Linked DNA regions of Homo sapiens: regions 1, 2, 3 and 4 are each linked to region 5. Evidence: promoter capture Hi-C in 16 types of primary human blood cells and fetal thymus (Javierre and others, 2016). All regions are on one chromosome and are shown on one strand. The core of a region is centred on a gene start or on the middle of the fragment in contact, and the rest is flanking DNA. Distances in the headings are between cores, read along the strand shown.

The links. The method cuts DNA at HindIII sites, captures the fragments that hold promoters and counts their contacts. A CHiCAGO score of 5 or more calls a contact.
Region 1: a fragment that was not itself captured here is called in contact with the fragment with the promoter of STAG1 in region 5 in 13 of 17 cell types (fetal thymus, total CD8 T cells, non-activated CD4 T cells and 10 more); the score reaches 12.8 in fetal thymus.
Region 2: a fragment that was not itself captured here is called in contact with the fragment with the promoter of STAG1 in region 5 in 17 of 17 cell types (fetal thymus, non-activated CD4 T cells, total CD4 T cells and 14 more); the score reaches 20.9 in fetal thymus.
Region 3: a fragment that was not itself captured here is called in contact with the fragment with the promoter of STAG1 in region 5 in 17 of 17 cell types (fetal thymus, neutrophils, total B cells and 14 more); the score reaches 26.7 in fetal thymus.
Region 4: a contact is called between a fragment that was not itself captured here and the fragment with the promoter of STAG1 in region 5, in 1 of 17 cell types (total CD4 T cells). The highest score is 5.0, in total CD4 T cells.

The regions. Positions count from the first base shown.
Region 1 is chr3:136,170,912-136,173,611 of GRCh38, reverse strand. All of the region lies in intron 1 of MSL2 (MSL complex subunit 2), which reads left to right. Among named protein-coding and RNA genes, the nearest start is that of MSL2, 24 kb to the left of the region's middle. The HindIII fragment of the contact is 318 bases long and covers 1,137-1,454 here.
Region 2 is chr3:136,205,257-136,207,956 of GRCh38, reverse strand. It overlaps the pseudogene RPL31P23. Among named protein-coding and RNA genes, the nearest start is that of MSL2, 10 kb to the right of the region's middle. The HindIII fragment of the contact is 2,366 bases long and covers 155-2,520 here.
Region 3 is chr3:136,188,009-136,190,708 of GRCh38, reverse strand. The region is part of intron 1 of MSL2 (MSL complex subunit 2); the gene reads left to right. Among named protein-coding and RNA genes, the nearest start is that of MSL2, 7.0 kb to the left of the region's middle. RefSeq lists enhancers at 1,089-1,590, 2,225-2,700. The HindIII fragment of the contact is 3,029 bases long and covers 1-2,700 here.
Region 4 is chr3:136,230,832-136,233,531 of GRCh38, reverse strand. No RefSeq gene overlaps it. Among named protein-coding and RNA genes, the nearest start is that of PCCB, 18 kb to the left of the region's middle. The HindIII fragment of the contact is 8,086 bases long and covers 1-2,700 here.
Region 5 is chr3:136,751,042-136,753,741 of GRCh38, reverse strand. STAG1 (STAG1 cohesin complex component) reads left to right here and starts at 1,364. Exons shown (of 34, transcript NM_005862.3): 1 at 1,364-1,547. STAG1-DT (STAG1 divergent transcript) reads right to left here and starts at 1,071. Exons shown (of 1, transcript NR_185911.1): 1 at 1-1,071. RefSeq lists enhancers at 56-987, 781-1,100, 988-1,919 and silencers at 1,111-1,340, 1,661-2,040. The HindIII fragment of the contact is 7,208 bases long and covers 26-2,700 here.

The sequences.
Region 1 (2,700 bases), core at 46-2,545, 580 kb after region 5:
TAAGGCAGTAGTAGTCATGCAAATAAAACCTGAAGGGGTGGAATTGGCAGATTTTTATAAACTACATGCAGGGAGAACAATTGGATATGGAATGGAGGTGAAGAGTCTGGGTGGTTTCAAGGTATTTAGTTTGTGAATGAATGATAGTGTCAGTACCAAGAGAATAAGGGATGCAGGAGGAAGACCAGGCTTTTAGGTGGGGATTTATGGGAGATAAAATTTATATTTGCTCATGTTAAGCTTGAATTACCTGTGGGTTGGCAAAAGAGAGATGAGATTCCTAGTAGGCACTTCGATATTGGGTCTGAAGTTCAGGGGAGAAAGATTTGAGTTGGAGATACAGATTCAGAAGTCACCAGTTTATGAACAGTAGTTAAAACAGCTTTATGGGCAATCACTCTAGAAAGAAGTATGTTCCACCTTCTTTTGTTTGTTTGTTTGTTTATTTTGAGACAAAGTCTTGCTCTGTCGCCCAGGCTGGAGTGCAGTGGCGTGATCTCAGCTCACTGCAACCTCTGCTTTCTGGGTTCAAGCGATTTTTGTGCCTCAGCCTCCCAAGTAGCTGGGATTACAGGCGCACACCACCATGCCTGGCTGGTTTTGTATTTTTAGTAGAGGTAGGGTTTCGCCATGTTGGACAGTCAGGTCTTGAACTCCTGACCTCAAGTGATCCTCTTGCCTTGGCCTCCCAAAGTACTGGGATTACAGGTGTGAGCCACTGTGCCCGGCCCCGTAGGTCAGTTTTAAAGTTTGTATGGTGTCATGTCTGTTTCAAAAGGGGAAAAGATTAATGATCCTCATAAGATTCTGAACAACAATTTGTACTTTTTTTTTTATTAGCTCTTGAACTGAAGACGTACACATTTGTATAGTCAGATTCTCAAAGGGGTCTGTGTCAGTAAGGATTACTAAGGATTACTGAAAGGGAGTAAGGAGAGTAGATCCTATTAAGGAAACATGGGAAATACTAAAATTAATGAGGGGACAGAAGAGGATGTAGAGGAGATGACGGAGACAGTGTTAGGGGAGAAAGGAGGAGAGCATTTCAAGGGAAGAATAATGAACCAGAAGTGCCCACTACATTTGGGATTAGCAATTTTTGCCTTTCATTAGAAGACACATTCTGGTGAGAAGCTTCTGCATAGGGAATAACTGGATGGGGAGTTGCTATAGGAAGGAAGGTTGAAGGTGGAAGTGAGAGAGAGGGTATAAATAACATTAGGTATAGGTAACTGGGTGGGGGGAGTATGGGAGGTATGTGAGCCAAAGCATTGGAGGGAGAGGAGGATTTACGTAGGAGGGAAGAAGAAAAGGGTACTGTATGTGTGTATGTGTTGTCGGGGAGTGAGTATGAGTATGATGAGAGGTGGAGAGAGGGAGAATACTTAAATATGTAAACCTTCTGGTAAATTTGGAAGCATGAAAAAATTGACATAAGTAGAAATATTCAAGCTTTCATTGGACTTTATTTTGTCACGTTTATAGAAAATTTCAATATACAGGCCAGGTGCGGTGGCTCACGCCTGTAATCCCAGCCCTTTGGGAGGCCAAGGTGGGTGGATCGCTTGAGCCAGGAGTTGTGGTCCCACCTACGCAGAAGGCTGAGTTAGGAGGATTGCTTGAGCCCCAGGAGGTTGAGGCTACGATGAGCCATGACACTGCACTTCATCCTAAGCGACTGGGCAACAGAGTGGGACCCTGTCTCCAAAAAAAAGAAAAAGTTTCAACATACAAAGTAGAATAAAACTCTCACATACATACCTGTTACCTCAACATGATACCTAGTGAAAATTAATTATACCCAAATGCAAGGCTTTTGATACACCCTTTATAGACCTGGCCATACGTCTTGGAATCATCAAATTTTACAGCTGTGAAAAGAACCTAGATATTTAGTTAATAGCTTTAAGAAACTGAGGGCCAAATCACTTAGGAGCACACTATTAATATATATGACATTGTTTTACTCAAAATTTGTCAGACTTGGACAGTTACAGAATTACTGATTGTAGTGGATGCCATGATGTAATACCCAAATCCCCACTTAAGGCTTAAAGAAATTCATTCTTTTAGCTAGTGGGTGTGCTGCTGAGGCTGTGAGACCTGTCTGGGAATCATCCTTGGCTGAAGAGAGCAACTCATTCATGGTCACATGCTTTCGTTGTGAGTAGTGTGCCTCCAGGTTCTGGTTCATTAAAGTACCTGGCTCCTTGGGCCCAGCATAGGACAACCCTAAGGAGTCATTCAGCTTTAGAGTTTCTTTTGGGTCATCTGAGGCCTTTTTTGTGAGTTCATCCCAGCCACTTCCTTCCTTCCTTTACAAATGATAATCCTGAGAGAAGCTCTTCATAAGTTTTCTGCACACTAACCTGTCCTAAGAGTTTGCATGCCTAGGAATCTGACTTGTAACAGTGACTAACTTTACACTTCCTTTTGATTTGAAACAGCAATGACTTGCTAAATTTTTAAAGATTTAACATGTCTCATTTTCTCATGTTTGTGAGACATACCCAGGTAAATGTTGAGTAATAATATAATGAAAGAAAATGATTACTTTTACAATGCCAAACATACAGAAAACATTCATCATTAGGACATGTTTCGGGATGGAACAGAAAGTAGAATACTTTCTCAAACATATTGAACAAATCTTGGCATATAATTGGCCTCTTTTCCCTCCCATCATTGTTAGGGTTCTGC
Region 2 (2,700 bases), core at 88-2,587, 550 kb after region 5:
CTTAGATAATGGAGAAATAGCCCCCAGGGGAAAATGGGCTGTATTCCAAAAATTCAATTTTAAATTGACTGTTTGGAATGCAGAACACATTTTCCCTTAGAAACAATGCCATGAATAATTGCAGTTATTTTTCTCAGGAAAGTCCACACAAGCTTGTTTAACTCATAATGTAACAGCCATATCTGCTAAGACATTTTAGATTTGCGTCAAGTAGATCCCTAAATCCTTACTACTCTGAATTATAAATTAGCCGTGTACATAGCTGCCACCCCAACTAGACTGTGAACTCTTTGAGGGCTAGAAACTGTTGAATTATTCATTTTTGTATTCTGAATGCCTGGCATATAACTGGCAATAAACGTTGGTTGCATAAATGAATGGACAAATTTAATAGGCATTTGAATACTGTTGAAAGTGTCTTGGGGAATAAAAACAGTAACATTTAGTGGATCCCTTAATGCGTTTGGCACTGTCTTAGGTAGATGACCAATAAAGCAAGCTGCTTTGTTAAGGCTGGAGTTAGAGATGAAGAAGATAAAAAAAAAATTTAATATTTGAGGTGTAAAATAAATGAGTGCTTGACTTGCTAAATACATGTTTTTGGATTAAATCAATGGAGAGATACATTGATTTGGAAAATGTTATGGAAAAAATATCAGCAGGAATTGCTTGGAGGGGGAAGGGAGGTGGTTCTTGGGAGCTCTAGGACTGAGGAGGGGAGAGCTATGACCACAGCTAAGAGCAGAGGATGGAAGAGGAAGTTTGGTAATGGTCAGAAAGGAATGATCAGGAAAGAACAGAAGTATCAGTCTGAATTACAGCCTAGTTTAATTTCATCTGGTTTACTGCTCCCTATAAAGAAGTACTACCCTGGCCAATCTCTGAAGATTTTTCATGAGTTTAGATTATGCTATTTTTACTTTCCCATAGATTGTGTTTAATTAGATTTATTGGTTTCCACAATGACAGTAGATTAAGCATTTGTGGCTTTTGTTTTTGAGACAGGGTCTCACTCTGTCACCTGGGTTGGCGTATAGTGGTGACATCTCAGCTCACTGCAACCTCCTCCTCCCAGGCTCAAGCAATCATCCCACCTCAGCCTCCTAGGTAGCTGGGACCACAGGTGTGCACCAGCACACCCAGCTAATTTTTTTGTATTTTTGGTGGAGACGGGGTTTTGCCATGTTGCCCAGACTGGTCTCGAACTCCTGAGCTCAGGTGATCCACCCACCTTGGCCTCCCAAAGTGCTAGGATTACAGGCATAAGCCATGGTGCCCGGCCAGGCATTTGTTAAAATCTGGTAGGGATGTGTATAATGGTGAAAACGATGGGATAGAAATAATAAGCAATGAGGGAGAATGCAACTTGAGAAAGTGGGAGAGGGAACATCATCTCTACAGAGAGTTTTTGGTGGAGGAAGATAAAGGAGGGGACAGAGGAAGGAGGGTGAAAGAGGAAGGGAAAGGAAGACAAAAATTAGCTATTTTGTAAACAATCTAACCCGTCAGAAAGTCTCTCTGACTGCTTGCCTGATCTTTGTTCTTTGAAAACATAACTACAACTATTTCTGTATTTACTTCATTGTCTCCAAAGTGCTAGAGTGCATACAATAAATACTTGATGATTGATATTCTGAGTGTTTCAAATCAATTCACACTTTTGGTTTTATTAAGGACCTTATAATTAACATTGATTTGATCAAGCTGAAACAAGAACTGGCTTCAAATTTGTAAGGCATTTTATATCTCTCCCCAAGGAAAAAGCAAACAATTTTCCATGCCTATTAGGTACTACACACTATACTAGTGAATTTACTTATATTGTCACATTAATCATTATTTTAACAATTATTGAATTCCTATTATATGTCAGACCTTATGCTAAGCAATGAGGATAAGAGGCAAAGAGGGAGAAAACTGACCTCCTAAGAGTTATAGAAATATAATGGGGAGGAAACAGGGCTAAACCAACAACTGCAGCATAGTGTGGTAGTGCAACAAAAGAGGTAAACACGCTTTTTATCAACTTGGACCTGGCAGAATGGCTTCCACAAAGAAGGGTGGCGAGAAGAAAAAAGGCCGTTCTGCTATCAACGAGGTAGTGACCCGAGCATACACCATCAACATTCACAACCACATCTATGGAGCGGGCTTCCAGAAGTGTGCCCCTAGGGCACTCAAAGAGATTCGGAAATGTGCCATGAAGGAGATGGGAACTCCAGATGTGCACATTGATACCAGGCTCAACAAAGCTGTCTGGGCCAAAGGAACAAGGAATGTTCCATACTGAATCTGTGTGCTGTTGTCCAGAAAACGTAATGAGGATGAAGATTCACCAAATAATTTCTATACTTTGGTTACCTATATACCTGTTACCACCTTCAAAAATCTGTAGACTCAACGTGGATGAGAACTAATCGCTGATCGTCAAATACATCGAATAAAATTATAAAACTGCCTTCAAAAAAGAAAAGAAAGAGGTAAGCACTTGGCAATATTGGAGAATAGAAGAGGGAAGCTTTAATTCAAAATGGGTATACAGACAATAAGAAAAACAAGTATTTTCCACAATCCCACTATCCAGAAAAAAATAATATTTTGGTGTATGTCTTTATAGTCATCTTTTTACCATGCATGGATATTTAGTTTTTCCAAAATTGTTCTGTTAATCAGGGTTTAAAAAAATTAATATATTATGAA
Region 3 (2,700 bases), core at 49-2,548, 560 kb after region 5:
AAACTTGTAACTCTTCAAATGATGTAACAAGTCTGATGTATACAATCAAAAATCCTGTTAGGATTGGAGGGTCATGTTAAATGGAAAAATACTATTCTTGGAGATAACTTGGAAAGTATCATGGTCAAACTCGGGAACATGAATATTTTCCTTTTTTTTTTTTTTTGAGACAATCTTGTTTTGTCACCCAGGCTGGAGTGCAGTGGTGCAGTCATAGTTCACTGCAGCCTCCAACTCCAGTCCTCTGGCATTAGCCTCTAGAGTAGCTAACACTACAGGTGTGCGCCACCACACGTGGTTGGCTAATTTAAAAATTTTTTTTGTAGAGATGTGGCCTTGCTGTGTTGTCTAGATTGGTCTTGAACTCATCTGGCCTGGGTCTCCCAAAATGCTGGGATTACAGGTGTGAGCCCCGGTAGCTGTACTATTTCTTTATTGGTCACCTGTGATGTTCTAGATGCTAAGATAGAAAGATGAATAAGACACATGGCACAGGCCCATATATATTGGTCAGTGTTACTGGGAAGACAAGTAAACCAACAATTATTGGCCAAGTGCTGAGTAGAGGCACTTAAGCTATAACAGACCTCATGTGTCACGATAGAAAAATTAGTAATTTTTTATTTTTGAGACAGGGTCTTGCTATGTTGCCCAGGCTGGAGTGCAGTGGCATGATCTCGGCTTACTGCAACCTTTGTCTCCCGGGTCCAGGTGATCCTCCCACCTCAGCCTCCCAAGTAGCAGGAACTACGAAAGTGCACCCCCGCGCCTGGTTAATATTTGTAGAAAACTTACCAATTAACATTTTGTACATGTAAAGTTTCAGAAATTAACCATGAAAGCGCATTTATTTGTGTAGAGTTTGTTTTTGAATAGCTCTTTGGTCAGAGGTTAAACATTGGTGTTAAAACAGGGTCTATTTTAACAGTTTTTTCTTAGTTTACCTGTTTTCTGATCTGGGAAGAATTCTTTTTTTTTTTTTTTTTTGAGACGGCGTCTCGCTGTCGCCCAGGCTGGAGTGCAGTGGCGCCATCTTGGCTCACTGCAAGCTCCACCTCCCGGGTACACGCCATTCTCCTGCCTCAGCCTCCTGAGTAGCTGGGACTGCAGGCACCCGCCACCTCGCCCGGCTAATTTTTTGTGTTTTTAGTAGACAAGGGGTTTCACTGTGTTAGCCAGGATGGTCTCGATCTCCTGACCTCGTGATCCGCCCGACTCCGCCTCCCAAAGTGCTGAGATTACAGGTGTGAGCCACTGCGCCCAGCCTCTGGGAAGAATTCTTTAGAGCACATTTATCTAGTATGCAGGTAGGAAGAACTGTGTTTAGTTAGTAATTTTCTTGGTAGATACAATTCAGCTATAGATAGCAGATCTATTTTCTTAACTTTTTTTTTTTTTTTTAATTTTCTCGAGACAGGGTCTTGTTCTGTTGCCTAGGCTGGAATGTGGTGGCATGATCACGGCTCAGTGCAGCTCAACCTCTTGGGCTTAAGCTGTCCTCCCACCTCAGCCTTTCAATTAGTTGGGACTGTAGGCGTGCGGTACCATGCTCGCCTTATTTTTGTGTGTGTGTTTTTTTTTTTTTTTTTTTTTTTTTTTTGTAGAGACAGGGTTTCACCATGTTGCCCAGGCTTGTATGATCTCTTTTCCTAAGGAAAATCTCCTAAGAAAAATCTATAAAAGTTCTAAAATATTTGCTTCTACTTGGGTATATTTATGCAAGATGATACTGCTTTAGGGAAAGGACTCCCTAAATGCATTGTTACCAGTGCTGAGATGAAAAGAGGTTTGATTTGCAGCCCTTCATCTTATGATAAGTTGAAAAGGTAATAATAGTTTAAATGTGGGTTCAAGGCAGGCAGTATGGTACTGTAGAATTAGGCAGATGAGACTGTTTCAGTCTGGTAAGATCTGGTAGGTGTGGGGCTTGAGCTGGGCCAAGAGAAGTGGTGTAGTGGATACTTTTTTTTTTTTTTTTTTTTTGAGACAGGGTCTTGCTCTCTTCCCCAGGCTGGAGTGCAGTGGCTCGATGTGGGCTCCAGCAGTCCTCCCACCTCATCGTCCTGAGTAGCTGACACTACAGGCATACGCCATCAATGCCCTGCTAAATTTCAGATATTTTGTAGAGATGGGGTTTTGCTGTATTGTCCAGGCTGGTCTTGAATTCCTGGCCTGAGGCAGTCCTTCCACTTTGGCCTCCCAAAATGCTAGGATTATAGGCATGAGCCACTGAACCCAGCCTGTTAGTGGACTTTTTTTTTTTTTTTTTCTTCTTCCAGATGGAGTCTTGCTCTGTTGTCAGGCTGGACTGCAGTGGTGCGATCTCGGCTCACTGCAACCTCTGCTTCATGGGTTCAAGCGATTCTCCTGCCTCAGTCTCCTGAGTAACTGGGACTATAGGCATGCCCCACCACGCCTAGCTAATTAGTGTATTTTTAGTAGACACGGAGTTTCACCATGTTGGCCAGGATGGTCTCGATCTCTGTACCTTGTGAACTCCCCCAGCTTGGCCTCCCAAAGTGGTGGGATTACAGGTGTGAGCCACTGCGCCTGGCCTAGTGGACATTTTTAAGTAAGGCCTGAAGGAGAAAACCTTTGGCTTGTGTAAACAGCAGTAAATTGGGTTTACCTGGAATGAAGAGCTCTTGTAGGAGAGCCCTTGCCCTATAGTGGTTATTCAGGGGCCTTTTGTGTGGAGAG
Region 4 (2,700 bases), core at 171-2,670, 520 kb after region 5:
TAGCTGGGGCTGTCATTCAGTAATGTTCTCTATAATTAGAGATCTGAGAGGTGCATTCTCAAGGCCACCACAGAAATCTTCATGGATGAGGCATGGAGGAAGTGAAAGAGGGACAGGACCTAGAAAATCAGTAGAATTTAGACAAGTGGTGATGGACAGAAAATATATCCAATGATGATATGTAGGCAGAGTGTAATATGTGTTCTAGGTAAAATAAACAGGGCACCTTATCTGAAGGGCACCTTATTAAAGGGCTTACTTTAGAGGTGATATGGGAAAAAATGTTAGAAAAGTAGGTAAAGATAGAATTGTTGTGGGACTTGAATGCCAGTATGAGAAATTTAGACTCTATCCTGTAGGCATTGGGAAGCCATGGACATATCAAGTCTACATTTTACCTAATCTCTCAGTGGCATTGAATACTATTGACTACTCTTTCCTTTTCTATTTTTATTTTTATTTTTAGAGACAGGGTCTTGCTGTGTTGCCCAGGCTGGAGTGTAGTGGCATGATCATGGCCTACTGCAGCCTCGACCTCCCAGGCTCAAGTGATCCTCCCACTTCAGCCTCCCAAGTATCTGGGACCACAGGTTTGTGCCACCATGCCCGCTAATTGTTTTTTTTTTTTTTTTTTTTTTTTGGTAGAGACAGGGTCTCGCCATGTTGCCCAGGCTAGTCTCAAACTTATGGGCTCAAGCAATCCTGCCACCTTGGCCTCCCAAAGTGCTGGGATTATAGATGTGAGCCCCCACGCCTGGCTTCTTTTTCAGTTCCTCCTTCATAAAACATTATTTTGGCTTTTTTGACATAACACACTCCAACTTTTCACACTCCAGCTTTTCCTCCTATGTCTTTGGCTACTCATTCTTAGTCTCCTTTGTTCAGTTCCTCATGACTTGAAAGTGGATGACCTGCCCAGGGGAGAATATAAACAAAGAAGAACAAAAATAAATAATGAACTAATTAATCCATCCAGGCAAATATTTCATGATTATGTCACTCACAAACCTAAATCCCTTTTTAAAACTTTCCTTGAGACAACTTCTCCCTCTGTCCCCCAGGCTGGAGTACAGTGGCATGAACATGGCTCACTGCAGTCTCGACCTACTGGGTTTAAGGGATCTTCCTGCCTCAACCTCTGGAGTAGCTAGGACCACAGGCGTGCAACACCATGCCCAGCTAATTTCTCTGATTTTCAAATAGAAACTCTTCAGTGACTTCTCAATGTTCATATGACAATGACAAAGATTTTTTTTTTTTGAGATGGAGTCTCGCTCTGTCTCTCAGGCTGGACTGCAGCGGCGCAATCTCAGCTCACTGCAACCTCCACCACCCGGGTTCAAGCAATCCTCCCATCTCAGCCTTGTGAGTAGCTGGGACTACAGGTGCAAGCCACCATGTCCGGCTAATCTTTGTATTTTTAGTAGAGATGGGGTTTCACTATATTGGTCATGCAGGTCTCAAACTCCTGACTTCAGGTAATCCACCCACCTCAGCCTCCCAAAGTGCTGGGATTATAGGCCTGAGCCACCACGCCCAGCTAAGATTCTTAACATAGCCTATAAGAGCCTACATGGCCTAGACCCTACCTATATCTATAATTCATCCAGTATTATCCCTCAGTCTCTCTGCTCCAGCCACACTGGTCTTCTGTCTCCTGTCAACTCCTGAAATGCACGTTCTCTACTTCTGCAGGGTCTTTGCCTTCATTGGGTGGAAGGTTCATCTCTCAGTAATGTCTGCTCTTCAAAATGTCTACTCATCCTTCATATCTCAGCCTTACACTTTCATAGAGAAGCCGTCCCTGATTTCTTCAACTAAATCAAACCTTTCTATGTGTCCTAGCACCATGCTCCTTTTATTAGTAACAGTTATCAAAATTGTAATTTTATATTTATTTGTGTGAATATTTGATGGTCAATCTTGTCATTCTCTTCAGTTAGACTGTAAGGTACATGATGGCAAGGACTCCAAGATAAGTATTATCTTCATTTTTCTTGTGTCACGTTGCATCTCTAGCTTCTAGCACTTAGGGCAGTGACTGAAACATACTTACCATGGTAGCTGAAATAACTACTGCATGAATGAATGAATGAACTGTAGCTCTTGAGCAGAGGATAGTGGTGAAGTCTGTGCAAAGTGATTCTTAGTTTAACAAGTCAATACTGAGTAAGATGAATTAAAGGTCTGGTAGATATATTAGGAGATCTGCTTTAAAAGTCTACTGCAGCATTTAGTCTAGGGAAAAAACAAAACAAAACAAAAAGCCTACTGTAGGTCTGAAGTGAAGAAGGTATATTAGGAAAAAAACTAAGTTGCTGTATAAAAGAACTGCTAAATACAATGGCCTGGCCAGGCATGATGGCTCACACCTGTAATCCCAGCATTTTGGGAGGCAAAGGCAGGCAGATCACTTGAGGCCAGGAGTTCAAGACCAGTCTGACCAACATGGCAAAACACCATATCTACTAAAAATACAAAAATTAGCTGGGCATGGTGGCACACACCTGTAATCCCAGCTACTTGGGAGGCTGAGGCACAAGAATCACTTGAACCCAGGTGGCAGAGGTTGGAGTGAGGCAAGATCACACCACTGCTCTCCAGCCTGGGTGACAGAAAAAGACTCTGTCTCAAAAAAAAAATAATAAAAATACGTAAATACAGTGGTCTAAATAAAACAGTAGTTTATTTCCTCCCACG
Region 5 (2,700 bases), core at 115-2,614:
GGCATCTTTAACAACATGGAAAGCTTGAAACAGTCTTTGTGGAAAATAGGAGATCAGCCAGAGATTAGAAGAAAACGCAAGAAAATTATAAGTAGGAGTCCAGTCACGAATTCATATCCAATCTGGTCAGTTATGACTTCCTCCAGCGAAAAGCCACACATCTTGCAAACCCTTGAGAGAGAAAACACAAATAGGGGTAACCTACTGGAGACAGGCCCTTAAGACTATAAAGTAGTTGAGCGATTCCATACTGAAATAGAGTTGGCTATAGCGATAGAGAAGTTAGTCATATATGGGGCTAATGATCCAGGAGAGTAAGGATTCACTTTTGTGGTGAAAAGTTGTAAGCAGGTGAAAGGTAGGGATCCATGGCCACGGACGGGCAGGTGGAGATCAGGGAAGAGGCGACGTTAAACATAAATAGTTTGTTAATGATTTCACCTTACTGATTATTTCTCTTTTGGCATCTAGAAGGCTAAGATTCTCATGTGTATTTCAGAGCTACTGAAAGTAGTCCTAGGTTGTGGAGGGAGAAATCCACTTTCACAGCTGAGTCTATCTTCTCAGTCTAGTTATATTCTCCTCTCACAAACTAGCCAATGCTGCCGCCTTATGCAAAGCCGACACCACGGAAAGATGTGCTTTACAGAGGCAGGATGACGCCAATCGGCCTAGGGCCGGCGGTGTTTCGTCTAGATTAATGGCGAGGGAAGTCCCCAATAGTCCTTTTGAAACCTTTTCACTCTTGCCTGGTGAAAGCGCTTGTCAGCCGTAAATCGCGAATACAATGCTAAGCTCTGAGGCCCTTGCTAAATCCAAGTAGGAGCAGGGATCTGCGCGGCCTCACCCTCGGGTTTCCGCAGGGCGTCTCGAGAGCTGCGGATGGGGGCAGCAGGAGCCGGGCGGGAACAGAGGAAAGCGCCGGCCCTGAGACCTAGGGAGGAGCCTCGGTGAAGGAACCCGGGGCGGGTTCCTGCCTAGATCTCCAAGAAGCTCCAAAAATGGCGGGCGGCAACTCGGCGAGCCGGACGCGCAGGCGCCACCGTGGCCGTCCTTCCGCCAGCCGCGGGCGGCCCAAGAACCGTCCACAGCGCCCTTATCCAGAAGCCTACGCCTCTCGCGATTGGCTGAACTGCGCGAGCGCTCCGTGTGGGGGCGGGGCCGCCACGCAGCGGCCACGTTTCCCGCCCCGCTGGTGCGCGTGCGCGCAATCCCCACTGGAAAGCGTTTGCGCGCGCCCCTGCCGCGGCCCCTAGCTCGCGCCTCAGCTCCCTCCCCTTTCCGGGCAGGCCCGTCCCGTCAGCAAGGCAGTGAGCACCGCGGCCAGCAGAGGGCGGTCCGGACCCAAGTCTGCAGCGGCGCCATTGGCGTGTGGAAAATGCCACCAGATGGCGGGTTAGGATTGCAGCTCCGTTGAAGGCGCGGCCCCCGCTCCCGAACCCCCGGCGACCACCCCGTAACAACCCCCCCACATCGGGAATAACACACCGGAGACTTTTGGGGGGAAACTAGGTCGATGGTCGGCGGCGCCCGGATGGGCAGCTGAGGTGAGTGCGGGCGGCGGCGACGGCGGCGGGGGGCGGGAAAGAGGGGGAATGCGGCGGCAGCGGCGCGGGGGCTGGAAGCGCCGATCCAAGATGGAGGCCGGGCGAGAGCGAGAGAGCGCGAGCGGCGAGCGGGCGGGCCGGGCGCGGGCCCCGTGCGGGGGAGGGAGGCCGCGCGGGCCTGTGCGGGGTGCGGCGGTCGTGGGCCGTCCGAGTGCCCGGAGAGACGTCTGTGGGCGCGGTGGGCACCCCGGCGTCTTCGTCGCTTGCCACCCCTCCCGCGGGCACCAAAAATTTTGCCCCCGCCCGCCCGGGCACTACGGCGACAGGCGCGGAAGCCTTTGTGGCGCGCTCGGGCCCGCCGCCAAGCCCGCCCTCCGCCCCCCCCCGCCCGGGCTCTCGGGAGTCGCCCGCGCCCAGCGGGGCCGGGCCGACGCGGGCTGGCGCGAATGCCTTCCGCCGCCTGCCGACCTGCGTTTCTGCGGTGTTTTAGCGGCGGCGGCGTCACATGACAACGAGTTCATTTCAGCGGAGGGGCCTGGGGGGTCGCTCGGCGGGGCGGCTGGCCCAGGCTTCTTGTTGGCGGGGTGGGGCAGCGGGGTGGCGGCTGGGGGAGATGCATCAATGCTGGGCTTTCCAGCTATCTGCCCTCTCAGCCCCCGACGGGGGCCTCCTTGTGAAACGTGTCCAGGCCTAAGCACTGCCCCGCTAGTTTGCCAGTCCCCTGAGAGACGAGGCCAATAAAAGTTGTTTTCCCTCCTTTCTCGAGGTGGGGGCGGGGTGGGAAACTAGAGTGCTTGGAGTTGGACCTGAGCCCCGTTTGCAGGGTCCGAACTGGGTTCTTCTTGTATGGTATGGGTACTAAGAAATTTTCAGGTTTTAGGATTGTCACGTCACCCCCATCTACCCACATTTGAAATGTTATCTGTCGATTCTCTTCACATTGCAGGGAATCGTGCTCCGGGAGTATAAGTCATAGGATAGTTTTGGACACTTACAGACAAAAAAAAAACAAAAAAAAAAAACGCAATTTGTCATAAAAAAAAATTATTTGCTGTTAAAGTTGGTGTTAAGATGGATAGAGTTTATTCTCGTGATTCTGACTAGAAAGACTTGCATCTTCGCAAAAATAGTGTTTACTTGAGAAAGTATCTGA